Regions from separate parts of the Homo sapiens genome. Here regions 2, 3 and 4 are each linked to region 1. Evidence: promoter capture Hi-C in 16 types of primary human blood cells and fetal thymus (Javierre and others, 2016). All regions are on one chromosome and are shown on one strand. Each heading gives the region's core, a stretch centred on a gene start or on the middle of the fragment in contact. The rest is flanking DNA. Distances are from core to core; before and after follow the strand shown.

Region 1 (2,700 bases), core at 24-2,523:
CACATATATGTATATTTTACAGTTGGAATATATACACATATATGTATATATACACATATACATATATGTATGTATGTATGTGTATATATGTATGTATGTGTATATATGTATGTATGTGTGTATATGTATACGTATATACATATATGTGTGTATATGTATACGTATATACATATATGTGTGTATATGTATACGTATATACAATGTATGTATATATGTATACATATACATACATATATACATGCATGTATGTATATGTGTATATATACATACATATACACATACATACACATATATGTGTATATGTATACACATACATACACATATATGTGTATATGTATACACATACATACACATATATGTGTATATGTATACACATACATACACATATATGTGTATATGTATACACATACATACACATATATGTGTATATGTATACACATACATACACATATATGTGTATATGTATACACATACATACACATATATGTGTATATGTATACACATACATACACATATATGTGTATATGTATACACATATACATATGTGTATACGTATACACGTATATATGTATACACACATACATACGTATAGATGTATACACACACATACATACGTATAGATGTATACACACATACATACGTATATATGTATACACACACATACGTATATATGTATACACACATACATACGTATATATGTATACACACACATATACGTATATATGTATATAGACACATATACGTATATATGTATATATACACACATATATACGTATATATGTATATATACACACATATATACGTATATATGTATATATACACACATATATACATATATATAATGTATATACACACACATATATACATATATAATATGTATATATACACACACATATATGTATGTATATTTTACAGGCTTAATTAACTTTCTTTTTCTTGTATAAAAACCCTATGTTGTAGCTACAGCTGGAGCCTGGGTCCTCTGCACGGAGACTCTGGTGTGGGTCTTGGCGAGGTGGTCAGTGAATTCTTGATAGGGACACTTGGTGAATACAGCCGTCCTCCAGAGGTCAGGGGTCAGGTAGCTGTAGGTCTTAGAGATGGCATCAAAGGTGGCCTTGGCGAAGTTGCTCAGAGTGGCAGTGCAGCCCCTGGCTGAGGTGTAGCAGTCATCGATACCAGCCATCATGAGCAACTTCTTGGGCACAGGCGCCGAGACGATACCGGTGCCTCTGGGCACGCGGATGAGGCGCACGAGCACGGAGCCGCAGCAGCCCGTCACCTTGCAACGGATGGTGTAGGGCTTGCCGATCTTGTTCCCCTAGTAACCTCTGCGCATGGGGACAATGGAGAGCTAGGCCAGGATGATGGCCCTGTGGATGGCAGTGGCCACCTCCTTGGAGCACTTAACACCCAGACCGACGTGACCGTTGTAGCCCGCAATGGCCACAAACGCCTTGAACCTGGTTCGCTGGCCGGCTCCGGTCTGCTTCTGCACCGGCATAATCTTCAAAACCTAGGCCTCGAGAGAGGCCCCCCAGGAAAAAATCAATGATCTCAGATTCCGTGATGGGCAGGGAGAAGAGACAGATCTCCTCCAGGGAAGTGATCTTCATGTGCTTGACCAGGCAGCCCAGCTTGCTGACGGGCATCCACTCCTTATCCTTGGCCTTGCCTCCGCGAGCTCCGTGGCTTCGGCCCCAGCCTGGTCCACGGCAGTGACCCCGGCCTCGGATGCCACTGCCGAAACCTCCACGGAAGCCACCATGGTTCCCCATCCCAGGGCCCCGGGGCCTCCGGGACTCCCCCCGCAACCCAATGCCGGCTGCGCCGGCGTCATCCGCCATTTGGTGTTTTCTCGGAGAAGAAGCTACATGTGGAATATATTAACGCAACAAATTGTGCGTACTTGCTAGACATTAGGCATGATAGCAAGTGCTAGGGTTACAAAGTATTGCTTTTTGGGGAACCCATGGTTGTTGGGGAGAAACCAGAAGATCAGTCATCACAGTGCGGCAAGATCAGACTTGTGGTTTGTTCAGGTTCTGGGAGCCGTCACTGCAGTGAGAATGGGTGAGTTGGGGCAGGCTGTGGTGTCTGGGAAATTTTAAAATAGAAGTGATACTTGAGCAAGAAGTTGAAGGATGAATATGGATTTATAGAATAAGCAGGGTGTAGAGACATGTGTGCATGTGTGTGTGTATTTCATAAAGAAAGACATGCATGTGCAAAGGCCTGGAGGCTGTTGATGTCAGCAGAATGTTCTGAGGAATGAGTAAGATGAAACAGATGAAACACTTAAAGGCATTTTTTCTCCATTAGTCAAGTCTAGGAGAGGCATTCAATGTCTAATGTCTAACTAGGGTTAGGATTTGAAGAATCTTTCTAAGATGTCTGGTCTTTTTTTTTTTTTCTTTTAGAGATGGGGTTTCACTGTGTTGCCTAAGCAGTGGCTATTCATAGGCACAGTTACAGCACACTGCAGTCTTGAACTCCTGGACTCAAACTATCCTCCTGCCTTGGCCTCCAAAGTAGCTAGGGCTACAGGCACATGTGACTGTGCCTGAGTAAGACGTCCCCTCTCAAAAGTCAGCAAATAAAAGGCAGCTTAGAGAAAGCCATGGTTCCTACCTGATCACCCTCCCAACCATCCTATGAGGATTTTACAGATGAGGACCCTGACGTTCAGTGGGTTTAAGT
Region 2 (2,700 bases), core at 153-2,652, 290 kb before region 1:
ATCAGGCAATTGTACTGATCCCACAGAAATGAAAACATAGTCACACAAAAATACATACACAAATGTTCATAGAAGCTTTGTTAGAGCCAAAAATTAGAAGCCACCCAGATGGCCTTCATTACGCCGATGGTTAAACTACGGTATATCCATACAATGGACTATTACTCAGCAATAAAAACGAATGACTGCTGATACAACAACCTGCACGAATCTCCAGAGAATTGTGCTGAGTAAAAAAGGGCAATTCCAAAAGGTTACATACAGTATGGTTATATTTGTATAAAATTGTGGAACGATTAGTGGTGGACCACGGTTAGGGACAGGGAGCAGTGGAGGGGCGGGAAATCCGGGGCAGGTAATAAACAGCAAAACAGCAGTAGCGATGGAAGTGTTCTGTATCTTCACTGTATCAACGTCAACATCCCGGTGTCTTTTGTAATATGGGATCTCTCTGTATTATTTCTTATGTGTTTGTGAACCTACAACTATCTCAAAACAAAATGTTTATCTAAAAAAAAGATTAGCGACTATCCATCTTCTGCCATTTGTCTTTTTATTTATCCCAGAGGTATAGCTTCTCACTTTTCAAAATTCTTAATTTTTCCTCACAAAGCAGTGTTAATAATTAATTGGGATGAGATGAATGCATTCTGCACACAGGACAAATTTTGGGGGGGTCAGTGGACCATTTATAAGTGAGTTACATTGTTGCCCCCCAAAATCTACGATCATATTCTAACTCCCCCAACCTCAAAATATGACCTTATTTGGAAAAAAGGTCTTTGCACATGTAATTAAGTTAAATATCTTGAGATGAGATCATCCTGAATTAGGGTGGGCCCTAAACCCCATGACATGTGTCCTTCTAAGAAACAGAAAAGGTGAAGACACGGAGACATGAGGGAAAGCCATATAAAGGTGAAAGTAGAGACTGGGGTGATACAAGAAATGGCAGCAGAAGCTGGGAGACAGGACGGAGGCATGGGTCTCCTTCAGATCTTCCAGAAGAGGCCAACACTGCCCACACCTAAATTTCAGTCTTACAGCCTCCAGCACTATAAGAGAATGAATCTGTCATTTTAAGTCATCAAGATTGTAGTAATTTGTTACTATAGCCATAGAAAACTAATACACCTGTCACTTTTTTAATGGGTATATTGAATTTCTTTTTTTAAATCACAGAGGATGTACTTTCTTCAACTTTTATTTATGTACACTCCTGTACATACATTGTTTTTATCTCCTTACAGAGGATATATGTCATAAAGATGTATCATTGCATTTTACAAACTTGTCCTGCAGAATTTTTCCTGGTGTTTTCTGTTTGCTCTAATGGTAAACTGTTGCTATCTGGAATATAGGCATGTCTACCTAATCAAATATCCTGGTTAATAATTTATCATACTTACTAAATACTCAGAAGTAAAACTATACTGAGCACAGGACTTAATCTACTGTTTCCTTGGTGACGAAGATGTCACTTCCAGATCCAGTGGTGTGCTTCAGGGTCTTCAAAATGAGTAGCAATTACTAGGCTGCAGATGTGTGAAACTGCCATTTAAGAGAGGTGTTGTGTTTCCATAGAAATGCCCAATAAACTTCTGGGCAAGATAGATTTTAAAAAGCAAGAGGATGAAAACTACCCACCTACTACAATGTCCTAAAAAGCAAAATATAGGTCCTTGTGGTGTTATGATTTATAATGGTTTTCAACCAGGTTCCTGGTCCATAACTCCCACAGCCCTTGTTACAGTCTTTTGTGATAATGTTGGGTCAGGAAACAGAATCTCTTTCCTGCCTTCCTTTCACCTGGCCCGAGGCAGGAATCTAATCTTTCCCCACCTTTCAGATTGTGGGTCTCAAACCCTCCCCTGAGAGGGCTAAGCACTGTAGGAAGGAACGTTTCCAAAAAACCCAAGAAAGCTGGGTACAGGGAGTTTCCGGATAGCTGAACACCTGGAGGTTCCTGGAGGGTGGCACACAAGGGAGGGGTTGGAAACTCCGCACCTCTTTCCCCATGCCTTGCCCTGTGCGTCTCTTCATCTGTGTCCTTTGCAAAATATCCTTTATAATAAACCAGTAAACATAAGTGTTTCCCTGAGTTCTGTGAGCCACTCCAGCAAATTAATCAAACCCTAAGAGGGGGTTATGGGAACCTCGACTTGAAGTCAATCAATCAGAAGTTCCAGAGGCTCAGGTTTGCATGTCTGCAGGGGGCAGGGGCAGTTTTAGAGACTTGAGTTTCCAACCTGTGGGATTTGACACTATCTCCAGGTAAATAGTGTAGCAAGTAAATTGGAGGACACTCAACTGGTGTCTGTGCCTTGCTGTGTGAGGAAATCCCCCCTCTCTCACCACAATCGGTCACAGAAGTCTTCCGTGTTAACTGTTGTGGTGTGAGAGTAAAGGAAAAATGTGGTTTCAGAGAGTTTCCCTACATAGTCCTTTAAAGTCAGGCTGGGCAGGGCACACAGGACCTGGCTTGATTCCTGACTCTAACATACCAGTGATATCTCGGGCAACTCAACCTCTTAGAACACTGGCATCCTTGTTTTAAACTGCAGGTAACCATACCTGTTCCACAAATGGGCCATAAGTGTTAATAAGCTACATGCCTAAGATAGTGGCTAGCACAAACTATATGTTCAATAAAAATTATTCTCTTCTTTAAGATCCACCAAATTTTCATTTAGACAAATC
Region 3 (2,700 bases), core at 189-2,688, 360 kb before region 1:
GCCCTGTCACCCAGGCTGGAGTGCAGTGGTGCGATCTCGGCTCACTGCAAGCTCCACCTCCTGAGTTCATGCCATTCTCCTGCCTCAGCCTCCCGAGTAGCTGGGACTACAGGCACCTGCCATCACGCCCGGCTAATTTTTTGTTTTTGTTTTTGTTTTTTCAGTAGAGACGGGATTTCACTGTGTTAGCCAGGATGGTCTCGATCTCCTGACCTCGTGATCCACCCTCCTCTGCCTCCCAAAGTGCTGGGATTACAGGTGTGAGCCACTGCGACCGGCCTCTCCTGCCTAATTCTAAGCATACCCCTCTTCCGTCTTTCTGTGTCCTTGCATCATTTTTATCTTATGACAAGCAGTACACAGAGGGAATTGCAATAAGCACATCCACAATACCAAGGACTACTTATTAGTAAACATGTTTGGTTTTGTCATTGTCTTATTTTTATCTTAATCAGTGTGAATGTTACTTACTCCAACTTCCCAGAATCTTCACCCGACCCTCAGCAGATAGGGACCTGAAGGATTAGGCTTTTCTCCCCCTGAACACACTTCCAGGAAACTTTTCAAACAGCCACATACACAGCTAAGCAACTCAGTATTTGTGAATGCTTTTTCTGACCTTCTCTTTTTCTTTCATTTAACTACTTTAGGGGATGTTTCTGGCCACCTAGAGGGAACTCTGAGTAACAAACAGATCTCCATGTGGTTGTTTTTCCTGAGCCAGATGCATGTAACACCTGGCAGCTGAGTCATTTGGGGAAAACAGCTTCTTGTCACACCTCTCTGATTCCACCAGCCCAGGGAATCACTGGAGAATCCAGAAACAGTGGCATGGAGCTAGGCATTGCCAACTCTTACTTTTCACAGAACTATGGGGAGTGTGAAATGCTGCAATCCTTCTTTTCCTTTTGTATAGCTTCTTGGTTTCATCTCAGAAGAACAAGATGGGAATGCATTCCTTTCATTTGTTAATATTTTATTAATGTGCAACTCTACATACATAATGCACATCATGCTATTCCTATGCCAAAAAGAAACCCCGAGTGTCTCCTCACTGCCAGTAAATTAAGCCCAACATCTTTTCAAGTTTCAAACAAGCTAAACCTGGTATATTTTTCTAATTCTATTTTGTAGTGTGTAGAGTGCTGTAATCTAGGCAAATCGACCACCATCCGCTTTCTCTTTTGCCCCAGACTGTCCCTCTTTTACGATTTTGCTCATGCCATCCCCTCCACCTCAAGTGTCCTCTCATCCTGTTGTGGTGACCATGTACCCAGCCATCCTTCTGGAGTCAGGACGACCCCAACCAACTCAGGGCTCACCTTCTTCTCAACCCCCATAGCACCTTGGGGGTGCCTCGCTTACTCCATTTTACATTCTGCTTTGTATTGCAGTTTTGACGAGTCTGTCTCTTCCACTGTGTTAAAAGTTTCCTGAGGGGAGGGAAGGTGGCATAGTCACTTTTGCTACTGACAGTATCTCCTACGTACCAGGGATTCAAAAATGTTCACCTGAATGAATGTTAAATGAGAAGAGAATTAAATGGCATGGCAGTCATTTCTCTTGGGCATCAAGCATCCCCCAAGTGAAACTAAATTTGCCTTCTTGCAAGTGCTTATTTAGTGCCTGTGAAGCTCTTGCATTTAGTTCCCCAGGTCGAAGTCCTGACCAGCTAGTGTAGTGCTCATGGAATTGACTGATCAATGCCTAAGGGATTAGAAGAACTCCATTCAAGACACACTGACTCTTCTCTTACTAATTATCTTCAGTGTCTCCTGAACAAATTGCTCTGTAATCAGTAACTTCATCCTCTGCACAGAGCCTGGGCTTAACTTAAGATGTCTGAAAAACAGCTTTGTCCTCTCCCACCTCCAACAGGGATAAGAGGGCGGTAAGCAGGCCTGAGAATGGGGCCTTAACACTAAGTGGGTTTAACATACAGACAGGAAGGCTCAAGAGCTCAAAGGACCCTTCACGACTATCTAGCCCAATACTCTCATTTTATTAGGTTGCTGCAAAAGTAATTGCTGTAATACACACTAGGAAAATGCAGACGGAGGAAGGGGGCCACTTCCCCAAGGTTATGTGGTTCCTTAAAGGTAGAACTAGAACTGGAACTCTGGAGGCCTGATTCCCAAGACCGCGCTACCATTAATTACACAGGTATTTTCCCTAATCCACCTCAGCACGCAAATCAGCTGGTGTTTTTGTTAAGAAGAAAGAATCATGAAGACTTTGTTCTGCGGGATTATCGGAGTCAAGGAATACAGGCTAAATAAGTGGCAAGTTTCATGCTTAGACGTTCCCGCCCCTCAGCCTGGCCCGGGTTCCCCCTACATCCTGGCTGCCACTGCCTGGGTGCCCATCTGCTGCCCTCGAGGAGCTGGGCCGTGGGCAGGGAGGCGCCCCAGCGCTGCGCGTGACGTTTCCACATGTCTGCTCGGTGGCCTGAGCCTCCTGCAGCCACTGACCCAGCTGCACCTCCCAGTGTTCCTGGCATCTCCCGCTCTGCCCCCTCAACTTCGGCCTCGGCGGCGTGGAGAGCTCGTGCTGGCCCTTGCTCGCTCAAATCTCCTCCAAGGACCTCATGGTCCCGAAAATGCTTTCATTGTGCTACTTGGTCGCATGCGCCTCGCCGCATTCTCCGGCTGACCGAGAAGCACACGAAGGCAAGTCCCAGGCTGGAACAGCGGCTCTGCA
Region 4 (2,700 bases), core at 190-2,689, 340 kb before region 1:
GAGTGTACATTCTAGTTAATTCAGTAAATGCCCATGGTGCACCCAAACTTCCTAGACTCTGAGGGCATTTTAGGGAAATTTATATTAACAATTATTTTAAAGCTTCATAAATATATGGCACTTATGAATTTTCAAAAGTACTTTGATCTTCATTACTTTGCTTAAATCTGACACAATCCTATGAGGTAGAAAGGACTTGATATTATCATCCCTAAATAAAGAGATTAAAGATTAGAGAGTGGTTAGTCCAGGGTTATGCAAATAGTCTACTGCAAAGCCTGGGTGGTCTCTGGCAGGCAACAGTAAAGCCATATGCACATGAAACAGGTGTATGAAGAGGTGGGTGAGACTGAGACTGAGAGGGTGGATGGTGCAGGTCCTGTAAGTTTCCTTCTCACAGACTGACCAATCTGAGTTCTACAGGAAAGCCACCCACAGTTCCTCCTTGTTGAGACCCCCTAGATCTAGGAGTTGGGATTGTACCTCTTTGTGCACATTCCATTCTGCCTTGTACAAGAGTTGTGTCTATATGTGAGGGGCCACTGGCCATTTATGAGGTCCTGGAAGGCAGGGAGGGCTTGGCACAGTACCTGGCACATGATAGGTGCTCTCTAGTGTGTTTGAATTGACCGTCCTCCAGCTGTTCTGAAGGTTAAAACAGGACTTTGCTGTGCTGTGGCTCATTCTCACCCTCTAGTGGCCACTTTTAAGAATAACGGACCACAGATGGAGCTGAGCTTCCAAAGCCAATCAGGAGGCACTGCCATGCCTAGGCCACAGTCCACCTTCTGGTCAGGAGAAACTCAGTTATCAATGGAACTCTTTAAAAATACATGTGCATCTCGGGCCGGGCGCGGCGGCTCACGCCTGTAATCCCAGCACTTTGGGAGGCCGAGGCGAGTGGATCACGAGGTCAAGAGATCGAGACCATCCTGGCGAACATGGTGAAACCCCGTCTCAACTAAAAATACAAAAATTAGCTGGGCGTGGTGGTGCGCGCCTGTAATCCCAGCTACTCGGGAGGCTGAGGCACGAGAATCGCTTGAACCCGGGAGGCGGAGCTTGCAGCGAGCCGAGATTGCACCACTGCACTCCAGCCTGGCGGCAGAGCGAGACTGCATCTCAAAAAAAAAAAAAAACAAAACAAAAAAACGTGTGCATCTCTGCTAGCGAGGCGTCTGGCTCTAAAGCAAAAGTCAAATAAGGAAATCAGCCAACTGTTTATCAGGCACTGACTACGTGGCAAGTACCCTGCCAGGACACATGAGATACAGGAAACACAGTTGCTGACCGTAAAGGAGCCCACAATTTAATGTGAAGTAACACTCCACCGCCCAGGCATCCCAGCATGCTTCACATACAAAGAACAATGGAAGTTTTAGAACTCCAAGCAACATTTGATGCTGTGAACAAAGCAGAATTTCTCTGGAGGAGAAAGTTTGAAAAAACCAATGAGACACTTTTTTTTTTTTCATTATCATGGTTCAGATAACCAGAAAACCTTCCTGCTACAAAATACCTACAAGTTCCACATAAAATACAAAAAAGATAATAATAATGAAGTCCTGCTTAATGCATAGCTGAGCATATAAGAAAATGACATTAGACAAGGGCCAAGAATAGCAATTTAAAACATTAGTATAAAACACAATCAAAAATCAACAAGCAGATTTGGACTATAATGAAATGGTTTTTCTAAAAGCCAAAAATATGGTCACTGAAATTAAAAACTTGGTAAGTTTTAAACAGCAAACTAAACATGGGTGAAGAGCGAGTAACTAAATTGGAAATGATCTAAGGAGCTTAGCTACAATGTAGCTTGAGAGATAAAAAGATTAAAAATAAGGCAGGGCACAGTGGTACATATCAATAATCCCATCACTTTGGGAGGACAAGATGGGTAAATCGCTTGAGTCCAGGAGTTCGAGACCAGCCTGGGCAACATAGTGAAACCCCATCTCTACAAAAAATACAAAAATTAACCGGTCATGGCGGCTCACGCCTGTGGTCCCAGCTACTTAGGAGGCTGAGGTGGGAGGATCACTTGAGCCCAGGAGGTTGAGGCTGCAGCAAGCCATGATCACTCTACTGCATTTCAGCCTGGGCTATAGAGTGAGACCCTGTCTCAAACAAACAAACAAACAAAAAACAGATTAAAAATAAAATAAGAGAGTAAGAGACTTAGAAGAAAGAGCAAAAGGTCCTATGTACATGGAACCACAGATCAAAAGATAGAAAACAGAGAGAAAAGTGAGAAGGCAACATTAGAAAAGATAATAGCTATAAATTTTCTAGAATAGATGAAACACATAGAACTCGCCTTCAGGAAGCACATGCCCTAAGTAGGGTAAATAAAAATAAATCCACATTTCAACACATCATAAGAAATTGCAAAACATCAAAGAGAAATCTTTTTAAAAGACAGAAAACAGAAGACCAATCTATCCAAAATGTTGAGAGAAACAGCTAAATTATAACTCAAGAATGAGGGTAAAAAAAGGCATTTTCCAACAAAGAGTGTCCCACTAATAATTCTGACAAATAATTATGAAAAAAATGTGTGTTATGAAGAAAACTGAATCCATAACCAAGATTGACAATGCAAAATAAAATAGTGAACAAAGTCATTAGTAATAATCTGGGAAAATCTAAATGAGCACTGACAGGATAAAACAGTAATCGTAACTAATGTCAAGAATA

The links. The method cuts DNA at HindIII sites, captures the fragments that hold promoters and counts their contacts. A CHiCAGO score of 5 or more calls a contact.
Region 2: a fragment that was not itself captured here is called in contact with the fragment with the promoter of LRRC52-AS1 in region 1 in 1 of 17 cell types (total CD4 T cells); the score reaches 6.1 in total CD4 T cells.
Region 3: a contact is called between a fragment that was not itself captured here and the fragment with the promoter of LRRC52-AS1 in region 1, in 1 of 17 cell types (total CD4 T cells). The highest score is 5.5, in total CD4 T cells.
Region 4: a contact is called between a fragment that was not itself captured here and the fragment with the promoter of LRRC52-AS1 in region 1, in 8 of 17 cell types (total CD4 T cells, total CD8 T cells, naive CD8 T cells and 5 more). The highest score is 10.8, in total CD4 T cells.

What each region holds. Positions count from the first base shown.
Region 1 is chr1:165,580,728-165,583,427 of GRCh38, reverse strand. It overlaps LRRC52-AS1 (LRRC52 antisense RNA 1), which reads left to right and starts at 1,273. Exons shown (of 7, transcript NR_026744.2): 1 at 1,273-2,073. It also overlaps the pseudogene RPS2P10. The HindIII fragment of the contact is 5,029 bases long and covers 1-2,700 here.
Region 2 is chr1:165,875,081-165,877,780 of GRCh38, reverse strand. All of the region lies in intron 1 of UCK2 (uridine-cytidine kinase 2), which reads right to left. Among named protein-coding and RNA genes, the nearest start is that of MIR3658, 31 kb to the left of the region's middle. The HindIII fragment of the contact is 2,649 bases long and covers 78-2,700 here.
Region 3 is chr1:165,941,418-165,944,117 of GRCh38, reverse strand. It overlaps the pseudogene LOC100420658. Among named protein-coding and RNA genes, the nearest start is that of MIR3658, 35 kb to the right of the region's middle. The HindIII fragment of the contact is 5,185 bases long and covers 1-2,700 here.
Region 4 is chr1:165,922,868-165,925,567 of GRCh38, reverse strand. No RefSeq gene overlaps it. Among named protein-coding and RNA genes, the nearest start is that of MIR3658, 16 kb to the right of the region's middle. The HindIII fragment of the contact is 2,669 bases long and covers 105-2,700 here.